3 separate regions of the Homo sapiens genome follow, and regions 1 and 2 are each linked to region 3. Evidence: promoter capture Hi-C in human tissues and cell types (Jung and others, 2019). All regions are on one chromosome and are shown on one strand. The core of a region is centred on a gene start or on the middle of the fragment in contact, and the rest is flanking DNA. Distances in the headings are between cores, read along the strand shown.

Region 1 (3,094 bases), core at 355-2,854, 770 kb before region 3:
CTCCAGCCTGGGCGACAGAGAGAGTAACAAACAAAAACAACCAAAGGGGCGGATCGTATACATTGACGACATTTCCCAAGACTAAACAAGAAAAAGCGCCAGATACGTAATTGTATGCAGGATGCCATCCTGTCTACCTTAACACAACGTCACGCCCACGAATGGTTCTGAAACGCACAGGAAAAGTTCTGGGAAGGGCGCTGCTGTGGGGTGGGGCTGGGAGATGGGGTGGCTGCGGGAGACCCGCTTCGTTCTTTCCGGTTAGGCATCTTAAACGCTGCTGATGGGAACGGTCTCACGAGGTTCCAGCAGCCTGAACACTACAACGAAGGCGGCGCGGGCGCTGCACCCGCCAGGCCCTCCCTACCTGCTGCGGACGTCCTTGCTGCGGATGGGCGCCAGGAGGCTGAAGGAGGATTTGGCCGAGCGAAGGGAACAGTCGTCGCAGGCCAGGGGGCTCCGCGGCCGGCCGGGGCCCAGGCTGCTGTGGGCCCGCACCAGGAGCGGCTGCGCGCGGAGCTTGTAGTCTGCAAGATCCGAGTCGACCTTGTTTGCTGTCCTCAGGGAGTCGGAGGCGATGTCCAGGCTCAGGGCAGGCGGTGGGCGCGGGGGCAGCAGGCTGGGCAGCCTGGGCGAGCTCCCCGCCACGGCGGCGTCTCTGTGCGGGAGGTTCGGGGAGCTGCTGGCCACCCCAGAGAGAGGGTTACCCCCCGAGGACGGGCTCCCTCTCTCACTGCTCAGGACCCCGCGGGACTTGGGGATTTCCTGCAAGGAGGTGCTCAGGCAGGGCGGGGAGCAGCTGTGGGCGGGGGCCCCGGGGCCCTCGCTCTGCACTGAGCCCCTGGAGGGACTGGTCCCATTCCGGGCTTCCAGGTCCTCCTGGCTGCCTCGAAAACGCCTCCTCCTCCAGCCCTTGTCGTCCAGGGACAGGGCTCGCTCCAGTCGAGGCCTGGCGGGGGGCCGCGGGGCGATGGGTGCTGCTCGGGCTGGCGGGTCCTCGCCGCTGGGCGTGGCCGGAGTGCTGCAGGCAAGCGCGGGGCTCTCGGAGCCCGGAGCATCGGGTGGGGACCCCGCGCGCTGGGCCGGCGGAGCGCCGGGAAGCTGTCCTTGGAGCGTCCTCCCTTCCGGCGGCTGCGGGGCCGGCTCGGAGGGCCGCAGATTCTCCGCCTTGGACGGCATGGACGGTCTCTCCCGGGGCAGGCCTCGGCGCGAGGCCGCAGGCAGCGCGAGGGGTCACGGGTGCCGGGTCCGGGGTCGCCGGCGCAGCGAGGAGCAGAAACGCCGCTGCGGCTCCCGCTTGGGCCGGGGATGGTCGCGGAGGGGCGGGGGCGGCTGCCGCATGGCCCGGGCCCCGAGTCCCGCCAGCCCCTCGGGGCTCCCAGACGCCGTTCCCAGGGCGGTCCGCAGGCAAGGCCTGGGGGAACAGGCGGCTGGGCGCCTGTCGCGGGGGAGGTTCGACCCCGACGGGGACGCCGCTCGGGGAGAGGGGTGGGAAGCGGGCACCCCTGGCTGGGCTCGCAGACTCCGAAGTCGACCCGGTACTCGCGGAGGCCCGGCCGCCCAGAAGCGGAGTCAGCCCGGCCGGGACCCAGCAACCGCCGCCGCGGGGCCGCGCCCGGTCCCCGCCCCGCGCCCCGGCCCCGCCCACAGCGGCCCCTGGCGGCCGGAGGACTGCGCCGCACCGGACCCGGACGGGTCTCCCACGCCCCTCCCAACCCGGCAGCCCCGCAGTCCGGCAGGTCCCAGCGAGGCAGGTGCAGGTCCCCGGAGAGGACCTGGGTGCGGTCCAGGACAGCGCCGAGGCCTGCGGACACCTGCACTCACTCGCTTCCAGCAAACCAAAGGGAACCACAGGTGAAGGTGCTTGAAGGAGCGCAAAATATTTTATTCAACAATTTGCAATGTAACAATTCTCATTTAGGAAAAATAGCCGCTCCCGCCTGGAGGAAGCTTCTTGAATCAAAAGTCGTGGCAGTCGACCCCAGAACAGCGGGCAGAGCCGACCGGAAGAGGTCCCAGGATTCACACGAGCTGACCGAGGGACAGAGAGGGCTGCCCCGTCACAGGGACTGGCCTTTCTCCAAGTGACAAGGACAAATGGATCCAGCGGGACACGCCTGTGGAACATTTTGGAAAACATCCTGGGTGGTCTGGGCTAAATGATCAAGTGAAACAGAAAGCCAGGAAGGATCTGTGCTAATTCCACATTCTACAATTTCTACACTTAAATTTAAAACACCAAACAGTTTGTATTCCTCCAGCAGAACCTACAGAAATTATCTACTGATTTTTATTAGTATTTAAATCTTTTCTTCAGTCTCTTTAGACTTGACAAGAATACGAAGAGTTTCAGAACAGTCAGAGAAGCCTTAAAGCTTTGCATCAGTGAGAGGAGGCCCGTCTCTGAGTTGAACAGGGTTGAGTCCACCAGGAGCTACTCAAAGTCTCAGTGTGGCAAAACTCGGGGCAGAAATACTAAGTTCCAGAGCTGCTGTCAAGAAACTGTGTTAAGATACTCTCCCCAAGTGCTACCAACCTCTGAACCAACGTCCCCCAGGGGAGAAAGTGGGTCATGTGGATTGTACCACGAAAAGTGCTCACGGAAAGTGCAGCCTTTTAGAGAAGTGCATCCAGCTTCCTTAACAGTGAGTCTAACCGTGCTCCTACACACGAAATGAAGCCCAAATCAAACATCACACGGTCAGTTTTCAACCTGGATGACCACCCTGAGCCATCATGTCAGACAGCCGGCTCTCTGGGGCTCCTTCCCAGTGACTGGGCCACACGGTGGGCAGTCCCCAGCGCTTTGGGTACACAAAATCACCCATGGTCCTCATCAGGCCACAGAAAGTAAAGTGAGGCTGGAAGCGTCTTTGCAACAGGAAAGAAATTCACTGCAGTAACTAAGGCCTCTCTCAAAAACCGTGAACTAATGCCGAAGGAACCCCACGGCTCCTCGGAGGCGCTGATTGAGAACACAGCGCCCTCCACTCATTCAGCCAGGTTCAAACACGGCGAGGGCCCAGATGGTGCAGAGCAGGGGTTGGGGTCTGCCTCAGTCACCCTCTCTTTGCTCCCAGCACCTTAAAGGAAG
Region 2 (3,324 bases), core at 18-2,517, 830 kb before region 3:
GATGGGGTCTGAGAGAGGAACTCCCCCTACAGCATGACCCCCTCTGGCCTCTGCCTCCTGGACACTCCCATCACGCCCTGGAGCCTGCAAGGTTAGCCACCTCCATGGCTGGAATGGGCAGAGGAGCTGAGGGCAACTGCCTGGCACTATGGCCAGCCCAAGCTGGGTGAGAGCAGGTTGGCCAGTGGCCCTCCCACCAGCACAGCAGCTGGGGGAGCCGGTTCTTGTGGGACTTCCTCATTCCCCTGACCGACGCCTGCTCACATCCCTGGCTGTGCCCTCCCTCCTCCACGGCCGGCTGCTGATGATGCAAGAGTGGCCACCCAGCCCTGCTGCAGCTGCGGGGTCGCTGCACTGGCCGGGAAGAGCTGCCCACAGGAGCGTGTCTCTGTCACCCCCTGCCGGCCCCGCAACCCTGGGAGGGGCTGTCAGTGTTGCCCTTGGCTGGCCAGGAGTGCTGCTGCGGTGTTTTCTCCAGGTTGAGGTGCCGGGCACCAGTGAATCCCTGGACTCTTCTCCTGCCCCAGATGAGGCCCGGCCCCCATCCCAGTGGCTGCAACAGAACTACCCATGTTGGGACCAGCCACTGCTGTCCCTTTCTGCCAGCATGGTGGGGGCCTCAGCCGCTGAAAGCCACTCCCTCTGAGACTGGGACTGCGGCAAGGCTGGGAGCAGCCACGTGGTCCTCAGACAGCCTCCAGCCCCGCTGGGAAACGCTGGTTTCCAGCCCAGAGGAGCTGGGTCACTGCTCCTGGAGACATAGTTGCCCCAGGCTTGGTCTTTTGAGGCATTTCTCAACTTCCCGCTGCACTTTGTCACCCCATTCAGGACAGTTTTGACAGACAAGGGACTGAATAAAAACACTGGCCACACGGTAGACAGTCCTGGGAACACTGGGCCCCTTTCCTGCTTCCCCAGCTTGAAATGCAGGGTCCCATCTGCCACCGTAATTCCACTGAAATGAACACATCTCCGCCCAGGGGCCGTGAAAGGGACGGGGCCGCATGGCGGAGGCTGCCTGGCTGCCTGTGGGAAGCCTCAGGCTGCTCTGGGGGATCAGTGCCAGGATCCTGAACTAGGCCAACGCCAACCTTCCTGGCCACCTTTCAGAAAGCACCAGACCCACCCACCTGAGGGTCTTCCAGGAGCCACCTGCACTGCAGACACACCAGGAGCCTGGGCCGCGGAGCCTCTGGGAGATGCTGCCCGGGGCTGCAGGGAGGGAGGAGCACGCCGGACGCCTGTGCACTTCCTGATGGGTTCTGCTTAACTCCACAGTCCCGCCAGTCCTCCCACAGGGGGACAGTCCCTGGTGACCTGCTTTCTGATTCGCCCAGCCCAGGAGGCCCCAAGAGGCAGACGGAAGTGGAAGTCCGCTGCCCTCCAGAGGAAAGCTGCTCCCAGCCCTCCCAGCCTGGCCGGGGGCTGGGGGTCCTGGGGATGCCCCAGAGGCCCAGCCCTGGCACCTGGCAAGTAGAAGAGACAGCAGAGACCCCCAGGGGGCTGGACAAGGCCAGCCCGCACCCAGCCACTTTGACCTGGTCACAGGCTTCTGGAGACTTCTTCAGTAAGGCATGCTTTGCTCTGTGCGAACACCCTCGCCCTCGCCAGCATCTCAGGACAGCGGGGCAGGGCATGTGCAGGGGGGCACACAGCCACACGGCATGGCCAGCACACGCCTTGGTCACAGAAGGGCTGCAGCCCACCTTATGGAGCCCAGGAGGCCACAGCAGCCTGCCAGGGGCCATGGCATCGGCCACCACCCAGCTGCACACGGGGGAGAAACGTCCCTTCCAGAAGTGTCGTTATCCTCGTTATCCCCATCATGAGGCATCCCTGCTCTCCACCAGGATGCATGTGAGGACTGAGGCCACTCTCGGGGTCCCCCAAACCAGCTTCAGAAGAGCCGGTGACAGCAGGGCACAGCTCGGCCCCCATCCAGGGACAACGGACAGCAGAGTCTGCCCTGAACTGTGCACTTCAGCGTGTGGGCTGCCAGAGCCTCATCCCTGCAGGCTTGGGAACCCCCAGGCCCCGCCTCACCCGGTAAAGCTGGTTGAACTGAGTTGCCACCCAACAGGTTCGAGAAGGGGCCGCCAGGCTGGAAGGCAAGGAAGCTGGTGTGGAGCTTGCCTAACCGTTCTCAGCCTCCAGCCCTCAGGCCTCTGTGCGGACAACGTCTGACATCACACATTAAGGAGCGGACAGTTAGGGGTCCTCCTGGGCTCTCGGGAATGCCACATTCCAGGGGGCCGTGCCCCTGCTGGACCCCTCACCATCAACATGAGCGAGTGTGCAGGCCGGGGCCATCCTGGGCCCTGCCAGGGAGCGAACCGGAGCTGGCACCAGGCCCTCATGACCCAGTGTTTCCCCAGCGTTTAAAACGCGGACCTTAGTGACTTCCCTGTGGTGTGTGTCCTTAGGAGTGAACACACATACCATGTTCTCTAACCATATCGGAAGCTAAAAATCGGTAACAGATATCGGCAAAATCTCTAAATATTTGGAAATTAAATAATATACCGCTAAATAACCCACAGATCAGAGTGGCCCCCAGACTAGGCACCAGACTAGAGAACCAGGCACAGCAACACATACTCAGGAGTGAGGTCGGCCATGGGACCGTCCCGTCTGCCAGGTGCCCAGGGCTGAGGCCCCACAGTGGCTCCAGTGAAGGATCGAAGCCCAGATAGCCAAGGGCCTGGGGGCGCTGCTGCCACAGAGACAAAGGAAAGGGAGCTAGGGGACAGACGGAGAAGATGGGGGCTAGTCTTATGCCAATAAAGGCCCATGCAAAAGGAACAGTGGAGGGTGGGGGCTGCCGCCGTGTCGGGGTAGCCAGGTCATCTGTTCCAGGGAACCCCCTGGGTCAGCCAGGGCAGCGCGAGGGCTGGCAGCCATCTGGGGAGGGTGCCGGCTAGCCTGAAGGACAAAGCCACAGATGCTTTCCAGGAAATGGGCGAAAGAAAGCCTGCTTCTCTGACAGGAGGGCAGCCGGGGTACGGGAGGCCTTCCAGGACCCCAGCTCTGGGCCCCCAGCACCCTGCTTGTTCCCGAACTGCCTGCACTAGGGTGGCTCAGCCACTAGGCAGCAGCCTGACCCCAGCCAGGTGGGGGGTCCCTGTACACTGCCCGGTACCTCAGGACAACAAAACCACAACAGCCTGTGTCCAGCTCCACAATTAAAAACAGAACTTTATTCCTCCAAGTGTTCAGGTGTGCACTTGGGGAACAGCCATGCTCCATGCCACACAGTCAGTCGGCAGGCCCGCCTCTGTTCACTGCGGACCTGGTCAGTCAGCGGCCAGCAGATACCTGGCCTCT
Region 3 (2,867 bases), core at 137-2,636:
GGCTTAAATCTGTCTCAGGTGTGCTAAGAGTGCCAGCCCAAGGTGGTCAAAAGTCCACAAAACTGCAGTCTTTGCTGGGATAGTAAGCCAAGCAGTGCCTGGACAGCAGAGTTCTTTTCTTGGGCAACAGATAACCAGACAGGACTCTAATCGTGCTCTTATTCAACATTCTTCTGTCTCTGCCTAGACTGGAATAAAAAGCCAATCTCTCTCGTGGCACAGGGAAGGAGATACAAGCTCGTTTACATGTGATAGATCTAACAAAGGCATCTACCGAAGTCTGGTCTGGATAGACGGCACAGGGAGCTCTTAGGTCAGCGCTGCTGGTTGGAGGACATTCCTGAGTCCAGCTTTGCAGCCTTTGTGCAACAGTACTTTCCCAGGATCCACAGGAAATACTCAGAGTCCACCTGGACATTTTACTTATATTCAGTTTCCAAGTGTCAGAGGGGTTCAGGACTGTCTGGCCTGGGGGGCCTCCTCATGACCTCAATTCAGGATTATCTACTCAAAGCATTAAACAAAAGGAAATACATTTTCAGGATGAAGGCTGCTCTTTTAAGCCCTGCTGAAGAAACCATTTCAAACAGGATTGGAATAGGGAAACCCGGCACTCAGCTCGGCGCAAGCCGGCGGTGCCTTCAGACTAGAGAGCCTCTCCTCCGGTGCGCTGCAAGTAGGGCCTCGGCTCGAGGTCAACATTCTAGTTGTCCAGCGCTCCCTCTCCGGCACCTCGGTGAGGCTAGTTGACCCGACAGGCGCGGATCATGAGCAGCTGCAGGAGAATGAAGAGCGGGGACGTAATGAGGCCGAACCAGAGCTCCCGAGTCTGCTCCGCCAGCTTCTGGCACAACAGCATCTCGAAGACGAACTTGAGACTCAGGACCGTAAGTACCCAGAAAAGGCGGAGCACCGCCAGCCGCTTCTCTCCATCCTGGAAGAGGCGCACGGACACGATGGTGGTGAAGTAGGTGCTGAGCCCGTCAGCGGCGAAGAAAGGCACGAACACGTTCCACCAGGAGAGGCCCGGGACCAGGCCATCCACACGCAGTGCCAGCAGCACAGAGAACACCAACAGGGCCAGCAGGTGCACGAAGATCTCGAAGGTGGCGAAGCCTAGCCACTGCACCAGCTCCCGGAGCGAGAAGAGCATCGCGCCCGTTGAGCGCGGGCCGGGGCCCGGCCGAGCGTGCCACCCGCGGGGCTGCGTCTCCTCTCCCCGTGGCCCTCGCCCGCGCCTGCCGCCGCTGCTGCGAGCGAGAGGCAGCGAGCGGCCCCGCCAGCCCCAGCCCTCGGCCCTGATGCGCCGGCAATCCCCCGGCCCCGACCCGGGACTCAACCCTGGCCGCCCGTGAACGCCCGCCTCGATCGGACGCCATGCCCCCACAGGGCGCGTCCCTAGTGCGTCACTTCCGGTCGACGGCGGAAGGCGGAAGGCGGAGCGGTCCCTGCAACCCGGCCGGCGGGAACTGCCTTCTAGTTTTTAGTCTCAGACCAGACCACCGGGCGCACCCCGATGCCGAGCCCGCAGCTTCTGGTGCTCTTCGGCAGCCAGACAGGCACGGCTCAGGATGTGTCGGAGAGACTGGGTCGCGAGGCCCGGCGCCGGCGGCTTGGCTGCCGGGTGCAGGCCCTGGACTCCTACCCGGTGGTGAGGGCTCGCTAGGGCCTCGGCGTGGGGGACGAGCAGGCCTGGCGTGCCCGCCTCGCGGGGTCATCGACCCAAAAGGCGTCGCATTTTCTCTGAGAGCGGGTCTTTCCCTTATGGCGGATTTAGGGAAGGAGGTTTGGGAAGGGGAGTTCAGTTTAGCACCTGGAGGAGGTTGGAACCTGAAAGAGAAGACGGTCTGGCTGCTCACATAAATCCCTCTGCCCTGTCAGCCTGAGTAAAGGAGAAGGGGGTCAAGTTTTGGGAAGGACGCCCGGTCCTTACAGCCGGAGGTCTTACGTGTGTGTGTCTTTTTGTTGAGGTGAATCTGATTAACGAGCCCCTGGTGATATTTGTTTGTGCAACTACAGGCCAAGGAGACCCCCCTGACAACATGAAGGTAAGGCTGGCCTGATGTGGCTCCTCAGATCCCTGCCCTCGACCCTCACCCCGTTTTCATTGCCTGGCGTCTAGGTGCAGTAAATAGCTCTCCTTTATCTCATGCACCTTCAGAGGTGGATTTGAGAGAACGTCCGTGAGTGGGGCTGGGGGCTCCGGTTGCCCTCTCTAATAAACTCGTCGTAGCCACCAAATAGCCTTATTATCCGTTTTAACCTTTCTTATTTTTCCAGGGCTATCTATATGTGCATCTAGTCTGGGTCTTGTGTGTATTTCTAGACTGTATGACCCTCAGGGAACGTTGCTGAATTCTCTGACCATCTTTTAAGCACATATTCTATTCTTGGCACAGTCTGGTGCTGGGGATCCAGCTGTGAACCCAGCAGCCATATTTCCATCCTGGCAGAGTTCACACTGTAGCAGAAGCAGCTAACGGGCAATGACAGTGCCAGCAAACACCTGCTGCTGGGGAAAGTAGCATATGTCACAGGAGCACTGATAAGGGGCATCGAGCCTTATCTCACCCAACCTTGGGGCCCAGGCAGAGGTTTCTGGAAGAAAAGAGTGTAAGCTGAGTCACGGAAGGATGCGTGAGGGCTAGTCAGGCACCGAGGAAGAAGGAGCAGTCAGCGCAGAGGAAAAAGATGATTTGGTTTGTGTGAAAAGTGGAAAGCAGCTCAGGGTGGCCAAGCTGAGGAGTACACTGGGGCAAGAGGGGAGGAGAAGAGAGGCAGGAAGCCAGGCCCAGTCCAAAGAGCCTGAGTAACCACAGCAAGGCAGATGGGCTTGAAATGAAGGGTTGTCGGAACTGTAGGGGTGA

What was found. The method cuts DNA at HindIII sites, captures the fragments that hold promoters and counts their contacts. A contact is called where the count stands out against the background at its distance.
Region 1: the fragment with the promoter of INPP5E here is called in contact with the fragment with the promoter of TMEM203 in region 3 in 2 of the 25 tissues and cell types used here (dorsolateral prefrontal cortex and spleen).
Region 2: the fragment with the promoter of CARD9 here is called in contact with the fragment with the promoter of TMEM203 in region 3 in 2 of the 25 tissues and cell types used here (dorsolateral prefrontal cortex and spleen).

Annotation. Positions count from the first base shown.
Region 1 is chr9:136,438,241-136,441,334 of GRCh38, forward strand. INPP5E (inositol polyphosphate-5-phosphatase E) reads right to left here and starts at 1,605. Exons shown (of 10, transcript NM_019892.6): 1 at 368-1,605. The coding sequence starts at 1,179. SEC16A (SEC16 homolog A, endoplasmic reticulum export factor) reads right to left here. Exons shown (of 32, transcript NM_014866.2): 32 at 1,865-3,094. RefSeq lists enhancers at 1-442, 384-493, 443-1,077, 1,078-1,711 and silencers at 784-1,273, 1,334-1,513, 1,564-1,763. The HindIII fragment of the contact is 9,976 bases long and covers 1-2,162 here.
Region 2 is chr9:136,372,402-136,375,725 of GRCh38, forward strand. It overlaps CARD9 (caspase recruitment domain family member 9), which reads right to left and starts at 1,268. Exons shown (of 13, transcript NM_052813.5): 1 at 1,131-1,268. It overlaps SNAPC4 (small nuclear RNA activating complex polypeptide 4), which reads right to left. Exons shown (of 24, transcript NM_003086.4): 24 at 3,170-3,324. RefSeq lists enhancers at 1,136-1,430, 1,450-2,163. The HindIII fragment of the contact is 15,539 bases long and covers 1-3,324 here.
Region 3 is chr9:137,204,262-137,207,128 of GRCh38, forward strand. It overlaps TMEM203 (transmembrane protein 203), which reads right to left and starts at 1,387. Exons shown (of 1, transcript NM_053045.2): 1 at 1-1,387. The coding sequence starts at 1,153. The coding sequence ends at 743. NDOR1 (NADPH dependent diflavin oxidoreductase 1) reads left to right here and starts at 1,439. Exons shown (of 14, transcript NM_014434.4): 1 at 1,439-1,651; 2 at 1,971-2,048. The coding sequence starts at 1,517. RefSeq lists a silencer at 1,143-1,402. The HindIII fragment of the contact is 14,043 bases long and covers 1-2,867 here.